Regions from separate parts of the Homo sapiens genome. Here all the other regions are linked to region 2. Evidence: promoter capture Hi-C in human tissues and cell types (Jung and others, 2019). All regions are on one chromosome and are shown on one strand. Each heading gives the region's core, a stretch centred on a gene start or on the middle of the fragment in contact. The rest is flanking DNA. Distances are from core to core; before and after follow the strand shown. Region 1 overlaps ZNF441 (zinc finger protein 441). Region 2 holds the start of ZNF442 (zinc finger protein 442). Region 3 has its middle 7.1 kb from the start of ZNF441. Region 4 has its middle 3.3 kb from the start of ZNF439.

Region 1 (3,271 bases), core at 538-3,037, 580 kb after region 2:
CCCCTTCACTTGTTTTTTGTTGTTTTTTCCTCATTGCACTGTACTGCTTCCTCATGATATACCTCTGAAGACCATCTTGATAAATTCTTCTGTGTGGAAGAGTTTAAGCAATCACATTCATCTTATTTGACATTTTCTTCTATTTGAGACAGGGTCTCACTGTGTCACCCAGGCTGGAGTGCAGTGATGCCATCACGGATCATTGCAGCCTCAACCTCCTAGGCTCAAGCAATCCTCCCACCTCATCCTCTGGAGTAGCTAGGACTACAGGTACATGTCACTATGCCTGGATCATTAGAAAGAAAATTTTTTTGGTAGAAATTAGGTCTTGGTATGTTGCCCAGGCTGGTCATTCATAGGTGTTTAAAGTGTGATAAATGGATGATTTAAGTCTGATAGAACTTTTACACATATTATACATTTAAGCATATACACATGGAAGCTCCTGGGAGTTGGTTATGTTTACATGGTGGAAAAAAAACCCTTCAAAATAATTATTAGTTTGAGAAAAATACATCAATAAATAATTTCTACGTCAACACATTGTTTTTTGTTGTTGTTGTTGTCGAGATGGAGTCTCGCACTGTTGTCCAGGCTGGAGTGCAGTGGCGCCATCTCGGCTCACTGCAGGCTCCACCTCCTGGGTTCATACCATTCTCCTGCCTCAGCCTCCCGAGTAGCTGGGACTACAGGCGCCCGCCAACACGCCCAGCTAATTTTTTGTATTTTTAGTAGAGACGAGGTCTCGCCGTGTTAGCCAGGATGGTCTCGATCTCCTGACCTCAGGTGATCCACCCTCCTCGTCCTCCCAAAGTGCTGGGATTACAGGCGTGAGCCACCGCTCCCGGCCTTGTCAACACATGTTATATGTAAAAAAGCTAATCAAATGTGAGCTTCCAACAATTCCCTCTGCTTCATTCTTCTGACTTTCAACAGATCATGGTTAACACCAAGGGCTCTGTGTCTGAGGTTTCACATGTTTACGTCACCTATTTTAAATGGTCTCAACCTCACTCCACCACCACTGACCCATCAAATCATTTCCGCAGCTAAATCCGAAGTATTCTGTAAATAGCTTTCCCTTTCAAGGAGTCTAACTGGACTCAGGTTGAACTCCCTTGTGGCTCTCTCATGTTCCTTGATTTATTCATTTGAAATTGTCTTCCAGAGCCGGGCGCGGTGGCTCATGCCTGTAATCCAAGCACTTTGGGAGGCCGAGGCGGGTGGATCACGAGGTCAGGAGATCGAGACCATCCTGGCTAACACGGTGAAACCCCGTCTCTACTAAAAATACAAAAAATTAGCTGGGCGTGGTGGCGGGCGCCTGTAGTCCCAGCTACTCGGGAGGCTGAGGCAGGAGAATGGTGTGAACCCGGGAGGCGGAGCTTGCAGTGACCCGAGATCACGCCACTGCACTCCAGCCTGGGTGACAAAGCGAGACTCCGTCTCAAAAAAATAAATAAATAAATAGTCTTCCAGGAGAGATTGTGATATACTAAGTGAGGACCTCATCCATTTTATTTGCTTCTCTTCTCCCTAACCTGCTACACTACTTCTTCATTGAAGGCACAGAATATTTTAAACTGACCATCACTTGCTGTAAATTCTGGAGATCTCAGCACAATTCAGAAATCCACACCCTAAAGGAGTTATGTGTGGATGTTAATGCCATCCTCACCACGAGAGGGAGTTCGTTGTCTCTTTTTCTGCAAATCGGTGCAAAGCAGTTTTTTTTTTCTTTTGAGACGAAGTTTCGCTCTTGTTGCCCAGGCTGGAGCGCAATGGTGCGATCTCGGCTCACTGCAACCGCTGCCTCCCGGGTTCAAGCGATTCTCCTGCCTCAGCCTCCCGAGTAGCTGGGATTACAGGCGCCTGCCACCACGCCCGGCTAATTTTTGTATATTTAGTAGAGACGGGATTTCACCATGTTGACCAGGCTGGTCTTGAACTTCTGACCTCAGGTGATCCACCCTCCTCGTCCTCCCAAAGTGCTGGGATTACAGGCGTGAGCCACCGCGCCCGGCTTTCTTTCTTTTTTTTTAAATCTACGGGATAACACTTCATAAAAGTAACAGTGACACTATTCAGTTTGGTTCATTTATATGATTTGACTTTTCATAGGTTGTTAAGAAAGCAGTAAAGTCTGTGAACCTAATCGGATTTCCCTGACTCTGAAAAGTGTATTAAAAAAAATGTATATATGGAAAGGAGTAACTGAGGTGACAGAAAGACTTGCTGAGGAGGTGACATGTGGGATGGGACCTGAAGTAATGTATTAGTATAAAAAGTCAGGTCAGAGGATTCAAGGAAGATGGCAGAATAAAAAGCATGAAGAATCTGTATCCCCCACCTGGATTTGCATTGGCAGAATCCAACTCATGTAGCTATTTTGAAACTGCGGATACTATTAAAAGCTTGCAGCTTCCAGGGAAATAATTGGCTAATAAAATTGGGTTAATTTCGGTCAATTTCAACTCTTAGTTGAGTCAGCAGCCCTGACTCATTCCCCCTCCTCAGCTCCATGACAGGTAGCTATGCATAAGTTCTAACAGCAGTCTGCATGCAGTTTTGGGGGGCCAGGGTGGACAAAAAGGACCTGTCTTCCAAATATTGGGGATCTGCGCACTGCTTGATAATTGTTGCTTCTGATCACAGAGTTACAGACAAAGAAGTGGTGGTGACTGTTGCTGCTGCATCTCTCTCCATTTTTTGAAGGCCCTTCCCCTCCATCTGAAGTGACTTCCAGGCTGGTGCCTTTTATTTTTCCCTTAATGCTTTTATTCCTCTCCTTTTGAGAGCCACTGAAGATTAGGTTGTGCAAAAATAACCATACATGCAGAGAAAATTAGACAGTTACCACACATGCCCAGGGACAGGTGCAACTAAGAAAAGACCTGAGAAGAACTTAAGTTTACACCTTAGGCTGTTCCTCAGCCCACAGACACCTGACAATAGTGTTATTTTAAAACTATCTTATATATTTTCTTTTATTGATACATATTTTACATATATATAAGGTACACATGAGCATTTCTTGCATGCATAGAATGTGTAATGGTCAAGTCAGCGTATTTGGGGTATCCATGATCTTGAGTATTTACCACTTCTATGTGTTGGTAACATTTCAAGTCCTCTCTTCCAACTACTTTGAAATATGCAATATATTTTTGCTAACTATAGTTCACTCTAGTATGCTTTCTAACATCAGAACTTATTCCTTTGATCTAAATGGAAATTTGTACATATTCACCAATTTCTCTTCATTTCCCCT
Region 2 (2,849 bases), core at 166-2,665:
GGGTGTGGGTTCTGTCTTTGAAGTAATCTTTTGTTGGAAAGAGAATTCCAGAGGTGCCTGGTACCTAACAAGATCCAACCCCTGAAGCTTCTAAGGAAATATATGACCAAATAAGAGAGCATGGTGTGTGCTTAATAAGTATTTAGGTAAATAAATGTGCACAGGCCAGGCGTGGTGGCTCACGCCTGTAATCCTAACACTTTGGGAGGCCGAGGCCGGCGGATTGCCTGAGCTCAGGAGTTCACGACCAGCCTGGGCAACATGGTGAAACCCTGTCTCTACTAAAATACAAAAAAATTAGCTGGGCATGGCAGCGTGCACCTGTAGTCCAGTGTGCTACTCGGGAGGCTGAGGCAGGAGAATTGCTTCAACTTGGGAGGCGGAGGTTGCAGTGAGCCAAGATTGAGCCACTACAGTCTGTCCTGGGTGACAGAGTGAGACTCCGTCTCCAAAAAAATAAAATAAAAATAAATGTGCATAAGGCATGGCAGTGTAGTATGGGAAAGGAAAGGGAGTGGAAGTTCACAGCACATTCTGAGGCTGTATTTTAAGATGAGAGGTAACATCTATGCAGTTTATCTCGAAGTTATTATCTTGAGATCAGGAGGGGAAAGAGGAAAAGGGAAAGAAGAAGAAAAAAAAGGTTTAAAACGTGGTTTGAGACTCAGCTGCTAAGCTGCTGGTTACACACTCTGGGACTCAACTTCAGGAGTCAGAATCTGCCTTCTAAGCTTGAAAATATGTTTAACCTCCTGAAAGGGGGTTTCCTGCTGAACTGTGGCTGAAATTTCTCTGAACTAATTCAGGTTTTTTCTTTTCCCTTCTTTTGATTCCTTTATAGAAGATTACTGCCATATAATTCCAGATTTTCCATGCATTTAACAATTTTATTTCATTGTTGATGTGTTTTTATTTTCTGGTCTGAGAATGAGTAGATTGGGAGATAAGGTGGGAGAAAGGCTTGACCATGGAGCCAGCAGTCTCATCCTAAATTCCTGATCCCTGGAGGACACCAGGCCTTCCCTCCTGCTTCAGTGTGGTTTGTGTGGCCTGGGCCTCCCCTACCGCTCTGAGGCCAGGGGATGGCTCCACTGGGCAGTGAGTCTCGAATTCCCAGCACACACTTGTGGGTCCCCGTCCAGGAAGAAGGAGCAGGAAGAGCCCATTGAGTACAGGCAGGAAATTCCGCTTAAATGCAAATGTCCCCTGGGAGGGGTCAGGTCACAGCGAAGGGAGGAAGCCCACCCTATCAAGGGCTGTGTCTGGAACCGCTTCATCTCGCTCCACTCAGCCGTGTAAGATCCTTCTTCTGTCAATCAGTTCCCTGGGGGGGCGGAATTTGGAGCTCTACCCAATCAGTGTTGGGGGCGAGTTCTTGGGAACTGCCAGTCAGGCGCGCTGCCGGGAGGAGGGTGGAGCTTTCTACACCCCTCTGAGCTCCCGCTCCTGGCTCTGTAGCTGAGAGAAGCCCTGGCAGGTCAGTGGCAGGCACTGTCACGCTGAGTCCTATGCTGGCAGCGGGGAACCTTGGGGAGAACACGGGACACCGCGGAAGCCGGGAAATGGTGAGTGTGCGGGGCCCGGCGTCCTGGGGCAGGGCGAAGGACTGGTTGGAACCGGCCAGAACCGGCTGTGGCGGGACCCGGGCGTCCCCGCGGCGACTGCGGGGTCTGTGGACCCGAGTTCCCCTGGCCCAGCCGGCCTTCAGTCCCCTCGGCCGCGGGGTGGGAGCTGGGGGCTGGGCCGGCAGCCGGGACCCCGGGCGTCCTGTCCCGTTTCTGCGCAGCAACTGCGGCCCCGGCTCCCGCGCCCTCTCTGGGGCAGCTCCATGCCCACAGCTCCGCGTCTTCCCAGATTGTGCGGCTGTAACCGGCACAGGTTCGCGGTCCGAGTCACTGCACCGAGACTCCAAGGCCTGCAGCAGAAACAGTTTAATAGGGGGAGAGGAGAGAAGACCCCAGTTCCGCCTCCATGAGAGGTTTGGGGATGGGGGTGTTTAGGGGTCTGGACAGGGGCGGCTGAAGTGTGGGGTCGCTGGTTGGTGGGGAAGTGACAGGCGAATCCTGGGACGGGAGGTGAAGAAACCGCATTCTCCTGCTGAGTGGGTTCCCTCGTGGGGTTTTCACCCTGCTTGGCGCCAGCCTTTCCGTTGGAATTCAAGATCTGAGAAAGAACTTGGGCAACTCGAGCAGCTCTCCGAGATCTTATCCCCAGGCACAATGCAGAAGCCGGCGGTCAGTGTCTTCTGTGACCTGACTCTCAGGAAGGCGGCCCCCGCGAGGCAGTGGGGCTCAGGGTACCTGGTTAATATCTAACTGCAATCAGAATCCAGATTCTTGCGTGGGGTTTGTGCACGGGAGGAGCTGTGGTCTGCGGGGTCCCCAGTCCCTTCTTTTCTTCCCAGGGTGACTGATTCCTCTTCGAGTTTTTCAGAGATGGGGGTAGCAGGGTCTCAAATCCACTACCCTGTTCCCTCATTCTAACTCCTCCTAGGGGTGGTAGTAACTCCCTTGGTTTCCAGAGCCTTACGCAGGCTAACTTTCCCTCCTCAGTTCACAGCAACATCATGAACTCCTCCCTCCTCCGCCCCACCCGTGCTAAATTTCAGAGTCCCAGTATTTTAATTTTCATTTTGTTTTCAGAGAGCAATGGATGGCTTCTTTTTTTCTTTCTTTCTTTTTTTTTTTTTTGAGATGGAGTTGTGCTCTTGTTGCCCAGGCTGGAGTGCAATGGTGCGATGTCGGCTCACCGCAACCTCCGCCTCCCGGGTTCAAGAAATTCTCCTGTCTCACCCTCCCGAGTAGCTGGAATTACAGGCACCCACCACCACACCCGGCTAATTTTTTGTA
Region 3 (3,002 bases), core at 372-2,871, 610 kb after region 2:
GGCCAACATAGTGAAACCCTGTCTCTATTAAAAATACAAAAATTATCCAAGTGTGGTAGCATGTACCTGTAGTCCCAGTTACTAAGGAAGCTGAGACAGGAGAATTGCTTGAACCCAGGAGGAGGCAGAGGTTGCAGTGAGCCGAGATCGTGCCACTGCACTCCCATCTGGGCAACAAAGCAAGAGTCCATCTAAAAAGAAAAGCCAAAAAACAACAAAAAAAATTATTTATTATAGTTCTGGAACCTAGCAAGTAAGAGGGCTTCATGTGGTGAAAGCCTTCTTGGTCATGGGGGCTGTGCAGAGTTTCTAGGTGGTTGAAGGTATCACATGGAGAATGGGCTGAATGTGGTAGCTCAGGTTCCCTTCTTTTTTAATATGGCCATCAGTCCCACTCCTGAGATAACTCATTAATTCAGTAAGCCATGAATTCATGAATGGATTAATTTATTTATGAGGTCTGAACCCTTAAGATCTACTCACCTCTTAAAGGCCTCACCTTTCATTAGTGCCACATTGGCGATTATGTTTCAACAAGCATTTTGGAGGGGACAAACATTCAAACCTAGCAGTGAATGGCCGGGCGCGGTGGCTCACTCCTGTAATCCCAGCACTTTGGGAGGCTGAGGTGGGTGGATCACGAGGTCAAGAGATCGAGACCATCCTAGCCAACATGGTGAAACCCTGTCTCTACTAAAAATACAAAAATTAGCTGGGCATGGTGGTGTGCGCCTGTAATCCCAGCCACTCGGGAGGCTGAGGCAGGAGAATCGCTTGAACCCAGGAGGCGGAGGTTGCAGTGAGCCGAGATTGCGCCACTGCACTCCAGCCTGGAGACAGAGCAAGACTCTGTCTCAAAAAAAACAAAAACAAAAACAAAAACAAGCAAAAAACCTAGTAGTGAATGATCAGGTATGCTCCCTCTGCCAAGCATATCACAAAAGTTTGAACTCTCAGAGGGAACATAGGAGTTCAGCAGATACCATATTTTTTACATAGTTTAGGGACACTCATCCTCCATTATCGCTTATGTTGGTGAAGCCCCCTAACTAAATTTAGTTCCTAGATATAGTGAAAGGTTCAACTTTGTGAGCAAGCATTTGTAACAATATGCGGTCTCAGGACAGCTGATGTTAACTCTTCTGCCCATTAGGTAGGAGGACTTTGTCACATCAGGAATTACAAACATCCTGTACACATAGATATTAGGGGTGATCTAGGCAATAAATGTCACTCCTTTAACTCACCAAGGAGTGGCATTTTATAATTCGACTGTTATTTTACCAAACACGTTTAATTCTAGCATTAGAATTGCATTCTGGGAGAAAATGAGTTTAGAAAGAGGGTAAGAGTTGGATTACCGTGTCGTTGCATAAATGTTTGGACACCACAGCATCATGTGACATTTATGTAGTGAGTACAGATTCCCAGTGCTGTCAGTTTCAGCTTTCCTCCTCTGCACGTGTCGGGTGTTTCAGGACTCAGTGGCCTTTGAGGATGTGGCTTTGATCTTTTGCCTGGGAGGAGTGGGCTTTGCTGGGTCCATCATAGAAGAGTCTCTACAGAGATGTGCTACGGGAAACCATCAGGAACCTAGACTGTATAGGTAAGGGGGACATCATGTCTTTACTTAGTCAATTACGAATATTTGTTTCTTCGTCACCAATGCTGTTCAAAGATTTAGAATATAAAAGAAATACGTTTGACCCTTGAACAATGCAGGGATTAGGGGCACCAGCCCTCAATGCAGTCACAAATCTTCAAATAACTTTTTTCTCCCCCGCAACTTGACTACTAATAGCCTACTGTTGACCAGAAACCTTACTGGTAAGATATACATTCAATTAACACATATTTTATATGTCATATGCATTACATATTGTTTTCTCACAATAAACTAAGGCAGAGAAAAATGTTAATCAGAAAATCACAAGGAGAAAAAACTATATTTACTATTTCATTAAGTAGAAGTGGAGCATCATAAATGTTATCATCCTTATTGTCTTCACATTGAGTAGGCTGAATAAGAGGAGGGGTTGGTCTTGCTGTCTCAGTAGTAGCAGAAACTGAAGAAAATTTGTATGTAAGGAGATCTATGCAGTTCAAACCTGTGTTGTTGAAGAGTCAACTGTGGTTTGGTGAATAAATCATCCATAACTGCAGTCTACATAAAATCTTACATTTTTAATATAATTTTATTTTTATTTATTATTATTTTTTTTTTGAGATGGAGTCTTGCTCTGTCACCCAGGCTGGAGTGTAGTGGCACGATCTTGGCTCACTGCAGCTTCTGCCTCCTGGGTTCAACTGATTCTCCTGCCTCAGCCTCCCGAGTAGCTGGGACTACAGGCGCACGCCGCCATGCCCGGCTAATATTTTTTTGTATTTTTTAGTAGAGACGGGGTTTCACTGTGTTGCCCAAGCTTGTCTCGAACTCCTGAGCTCAGACGATCCACCCACCTCGGCCTCCCAAAGTGCTAGGATTACATGCGTGAACCACCGCCCCCGGCCTCAATGTAATTTTATAATAATATATAGTGATTCTTCTGGGTCTACATTTTAGGAATGAAATGGGAAGACCAAAACATTAAAGATTAGTACAAAATTCCCAGAAGAAATCTAAGGTAATTTGCCCTAGGAAGAGAAAGATATGTCTTTGGAATAATTCTTAAAGTGACAGGAAATTTTTCACACCTATAATTCCAGCACTTTGAAAGGGTGGGGGGGTGGGGCGCAGTTCAGGAGGTCGGGAATTCGAGACCAGTCTGGCCAACATAGTGAAACCCTGTCTCTACTAAAGATACAAAAAATTAGCCAGGCGTGGTGGTGTGAACCTGTAGTCCCAGCTACTTAGGAGGCTGAGGCAGGAGAATCGCATGTACCCGGGAGGAGGACGTTGCAGTCAGTCGAGATCATGCCATTGCACTCCAGCTCAGGCGAAAGTGCAAGACTCCGTCTAAAAAAAAAGACAGGAAAATTTTAAAACAAGCAAAATAAATAAA
Region 4 (3,102 bases), core at 216-2,715, 520 kb after region 2:
CACTCCCATCTCCATAATTTTTTTTTTATTAGCCTGGAGAGGTGGTGTGTACCCTTAGTCTCAGCTACTCAGGAGCCTGAGGCAGGAGGATTACTCGAGCCCCAAAGTTTGAGGCTGCTGTGAGCTTTGATCAGGCTACTGTACTTCAGCAAGACACGGTCTCAAAAAAAAAAAAATCCCACCAAATTCCCTGGGGAAACCCTGACCCCCTTGGATGGTCTAATTGTAAAACACAGAGGGTGGTGACGTTTCCTTATGGACTGGATCATTCTAGCCATGTAAGAGGCTTGGACTACTGAGGATTTACCAGGCGGATGACCTCCTTGCTGTCAATGTAAAAGGCCCCTGGTGAAACCATCCCTTTAAACTTTATCAAATTCATCAGGGAGGAAGGGAGGAGGAAAACTTAAACCAAGCTGGCAGCACCTTCAGCATTAATCATTAAGTCAGCTTGTTCTCTGACCTTCCTCATATTTGTTTCATACCTAGTGTCCTAGAATCCCACAGACCCTAAATGATAGTTCCCGTTAACTGCTCTATAGACATCAACTTGAACATTAGATGTTCTCCCTTTGAATTTCCATTCGAAATATTTCCTTTTCAGGGCTGGGTGCATTGGTTCATGACTGTAATCTCAGCACTTTGGGAGGCTGAGGTTGGGGAATCACTTGAGCCTGGGCGTTCAAGAACAGCCTGGAAAATACAGTGAGACTCCATCTGTACAAAAAAATTTATAAACAATTGGGCATGGTGGCATGTGCCTTTATTCCCTGCTACTTGGGAGGCTGAGGCAGGAGGATCCCTTGATCCCAGGAGTTTCTGCAGTGAGCTATATGATCCCACCACTGCACTCCAGCCTGGGAAACAGAACCACACTATGTCTCTTAAAAAACAAAAAAGAAAAAAGAAATCCAGACATTTGTTGGTCTTTGGATTATTGGAGAGCATTTATCTGACACTTAGCCCAAAGTTTGATACCAATATATAGAATTATTAGAAAGGGGCACTTTGAGACTGGGACACAGCTCTGCAGGAAGCTTTCGACAGGTTAATGTGTTAGTATGCTGCCATACTAACTTCAGCAAGACCTGGTCTCAAAAAAAAAAAAAAATCCCACAAAACTCTCTGGGAAAACCCTGACAACCCTTGGATGGTCCAATTATAAAACACAGCAGGTAGTGATATTTCCCTATGGACTGGATCACAAGCCTCAGGCACACCTTTAGAGGGTAGAGCTGTGAGTTGGGATGATACAGCTGCTGCTGCAGGTACAAATTGGGCCTTATGGCAAACACAGTGTGGTAAATCAGTTCCTTTAGGATTTTGGTTGTAATTATGTCATAGAGATGAAACCAGACACTCTTGAAGTGAACAAGTGCTGGCAGTATATGATGCTCTCAAGTAGGTAGAATCCTTAAAAAAGAACCTTTCTATGACTGTGAGAATGGGATTACCATGCTCGGCTAATTTTTTGTATTTTTAGTAAAGACAGGGTTTCAACATGCTGTCCAGGCTGGTCTTGAACTCCTGAGCTCAAGTGATCCACCCGCCTCAGCCTCCCAAAGTGCTGGGATTACAGGTGTGAGCCACTGTGCCAGGCCTCCCACTAAGTTTCTTTCATTTGGCCTGGCACAGTTTCTCACGCCTTAATCTCAGCACTTTGGGTGAGCGAGGCGGGTAGATCGCTTGAGCCCAAAATCTTGGGCTATGACCACCCTGGGCAACATAGTAAGACCTAGTTTCTATTTACTTTTATTAAAAAAGAGAATATATATATATACACACACATATAAAAGAGGCCGAGCACAGTGGTTCACACCTGTAATCTTAGCGCTTTGGGAGGCCAAGGCAGGTGGATCACCTGAGGTCAAGAGTTCGAGACCAAGCTGGCCAACATGGTGAAACCCCGTCTGTAACTAACAAAACGAAAATTATCCAGGCGTGGTGGTGCACACCTGTAATCCAAGCTACTCGGGAGGCTGACGCAGGAGAATCACTTGAACCCAGGAGGCAGAAGTTGCAGTGACCCGATATCGTGCCATTGCACTCCAGCCTGGGCAACAAGAGCAAAAACTCCATTTCAAAAACAGAGAGAGAGAGAGAGAGAAAGGAAGTTTCTTTAACTCCCTAGTTGTTATGGGCTATCACTACTATCACCAGCAGTTGCCTATGAAGCAAAACCTATTCTCACAATGGGTCCAAGAGGAAAAGTAGAAGACTTGGAGACATTCCAGGTAGATCCAAATGCAGCACTTGTACGACAGTATATGGTTAATGTGAGGACTCTTGGGGTGACTTAGCTCAGGCTGGTATAACAAAATACCATGGACTCATACCATGGACTCAGTTTCTTAAACGGCAAACATTTGTTTCTCACAATTCTGGAGTGCGGGAAGTCCAAAATCTTGCTGCCAGCAATTTTGTTCCCAGTGAAGGCTATCTTCCTGGCTTACAGCTAGATGCCTTCTTGCTTTGTCCTCCCATGCTGGAGAAACAGAGAATTCTCTCTCTTCTTACTAATCCCATTATGAGGGCTCTCCTTTATAAATGTATGTGATCTCCTAAAAGGTCTGTGTCCAAATATGACCCTGTTGGGGTTTAGGGCTTGTAAGTATACATTTTATTTTAGAGACAGGGTCTCCCAGTGTGGCCCAGGCTGGTTTTAAACTCCTGGGCTCAAGGGATCCTCCTGCCTTGGCCTCCCAAAGTACTGGGATTACAGGCATGAACCACCGCACCCGGCCTCTAAGTACACATTTTGAGGAGAGTAAATGCAGGACACGCCAAGGGGTAAACAGAAGTCCATAAAAGAGGCTTTGGAAACAATGTAATCAGACAGTGTTGGAGGCTGAAAGAATGGGGGTCCTGATCAACTCAGTATACCACTGGAGGCTAATGAGCAAACAGCAAACTCTTCTCATGAATGCAGCTTGTTGGCAAACTGACAAACTACGTCTGCCACCCAGAAAGAATGCTGAGGGCAGTTACTCCCCAAGCGCAGTGTTTCTTGTGATTATCTACAGGCACATCTGAAGCCTGTTGTACAAAGAAAGTAATCATGTGAACCTGTGATAAATCAAGCAGCTGACCAACCATTACCTC

The links. The method cuts DNA at HindIII sites, captures the fragments that hold promoters and counts their contacts. A contact is called where the count stands out against the background at its distance.
Region 1: a fragment that was not itself captured here is called in contact with the fragment with the promoter of ZNF442 in region 2 in 2 of the 25 tissues and cell types used here (hippocampus and lymphoblastoid cells).
Region 3: a fragment that was not itself captured here is called in contact with the fragment with the promoter of ZNF442 in region 2 in 4 of the 25 tissues and cell types used here (dorsolateral prefrontal cortex, hippocampus, mesenchymal stem cells and 1 more).
Region 4: a fragment that was not itself captured here is called in contact with the fragment with the promoter of ZNF442 in region 2 in 6 of the 25 tissues and cell types used here (adrenal gland, dorsolateral prefrontal cortex, heart left ventricle and 3 more).

What each region holds. Positions count from the first base shown.
Region 1 is chr19:11,783,765-11,787,035 of GRCh38, reverse strand. ZNF441 (zinc finger protein 441) reads right to left here. Exons shown (of 4, transcript NM_152355.3): 4 at 2,958-3,271. Among named protein-coding and RNA genes, the nearest start is that of ZNF491, 13 kb to the left of the region's middle. The HindIII fragment of the contact is 7,851 bases long and covers 1-3,271 here.
Region 2 is chr19:12,364,249-12,367,097 of GRCh38, reverse strand. ZNF442 (zinc finger protein 442) reads left to right here and starts at 1,415. Exons shown (of 6, transcript NM_030824.3): 1 at 1,415-1,565; 2 at 1,855-2,296. RefSeq lists an enhancer at 1,502-1,601 and a silencer at 1,702-1,881. The HindIII fragment of the contact is 16,775 bases long and covers 410-2,849 here.
Region 3 is chr19:11,758,410-11,761,411 of GRCh38, reverse strand. No RefSeq gene overlaps it. Among named protein-coding and RNA genes, the nearest start is that of ZNF441, 7.1 kb to the left of the region's middle. The HindIII fragment of the contact is 5,499 bases long and covers 1-3,002 here.
Region 4 is chr19:11,843,885-11,846,986 of GRCh38, reverse strand. No RefSeq gene overlaps it. Among named protein-coding and RNA genes, the nearest start is that of ZNF439, 3.3 kb to the left of the region's middle. The HindIII fragment of the contact is 5,747 bases long and covers 1-3,102 here.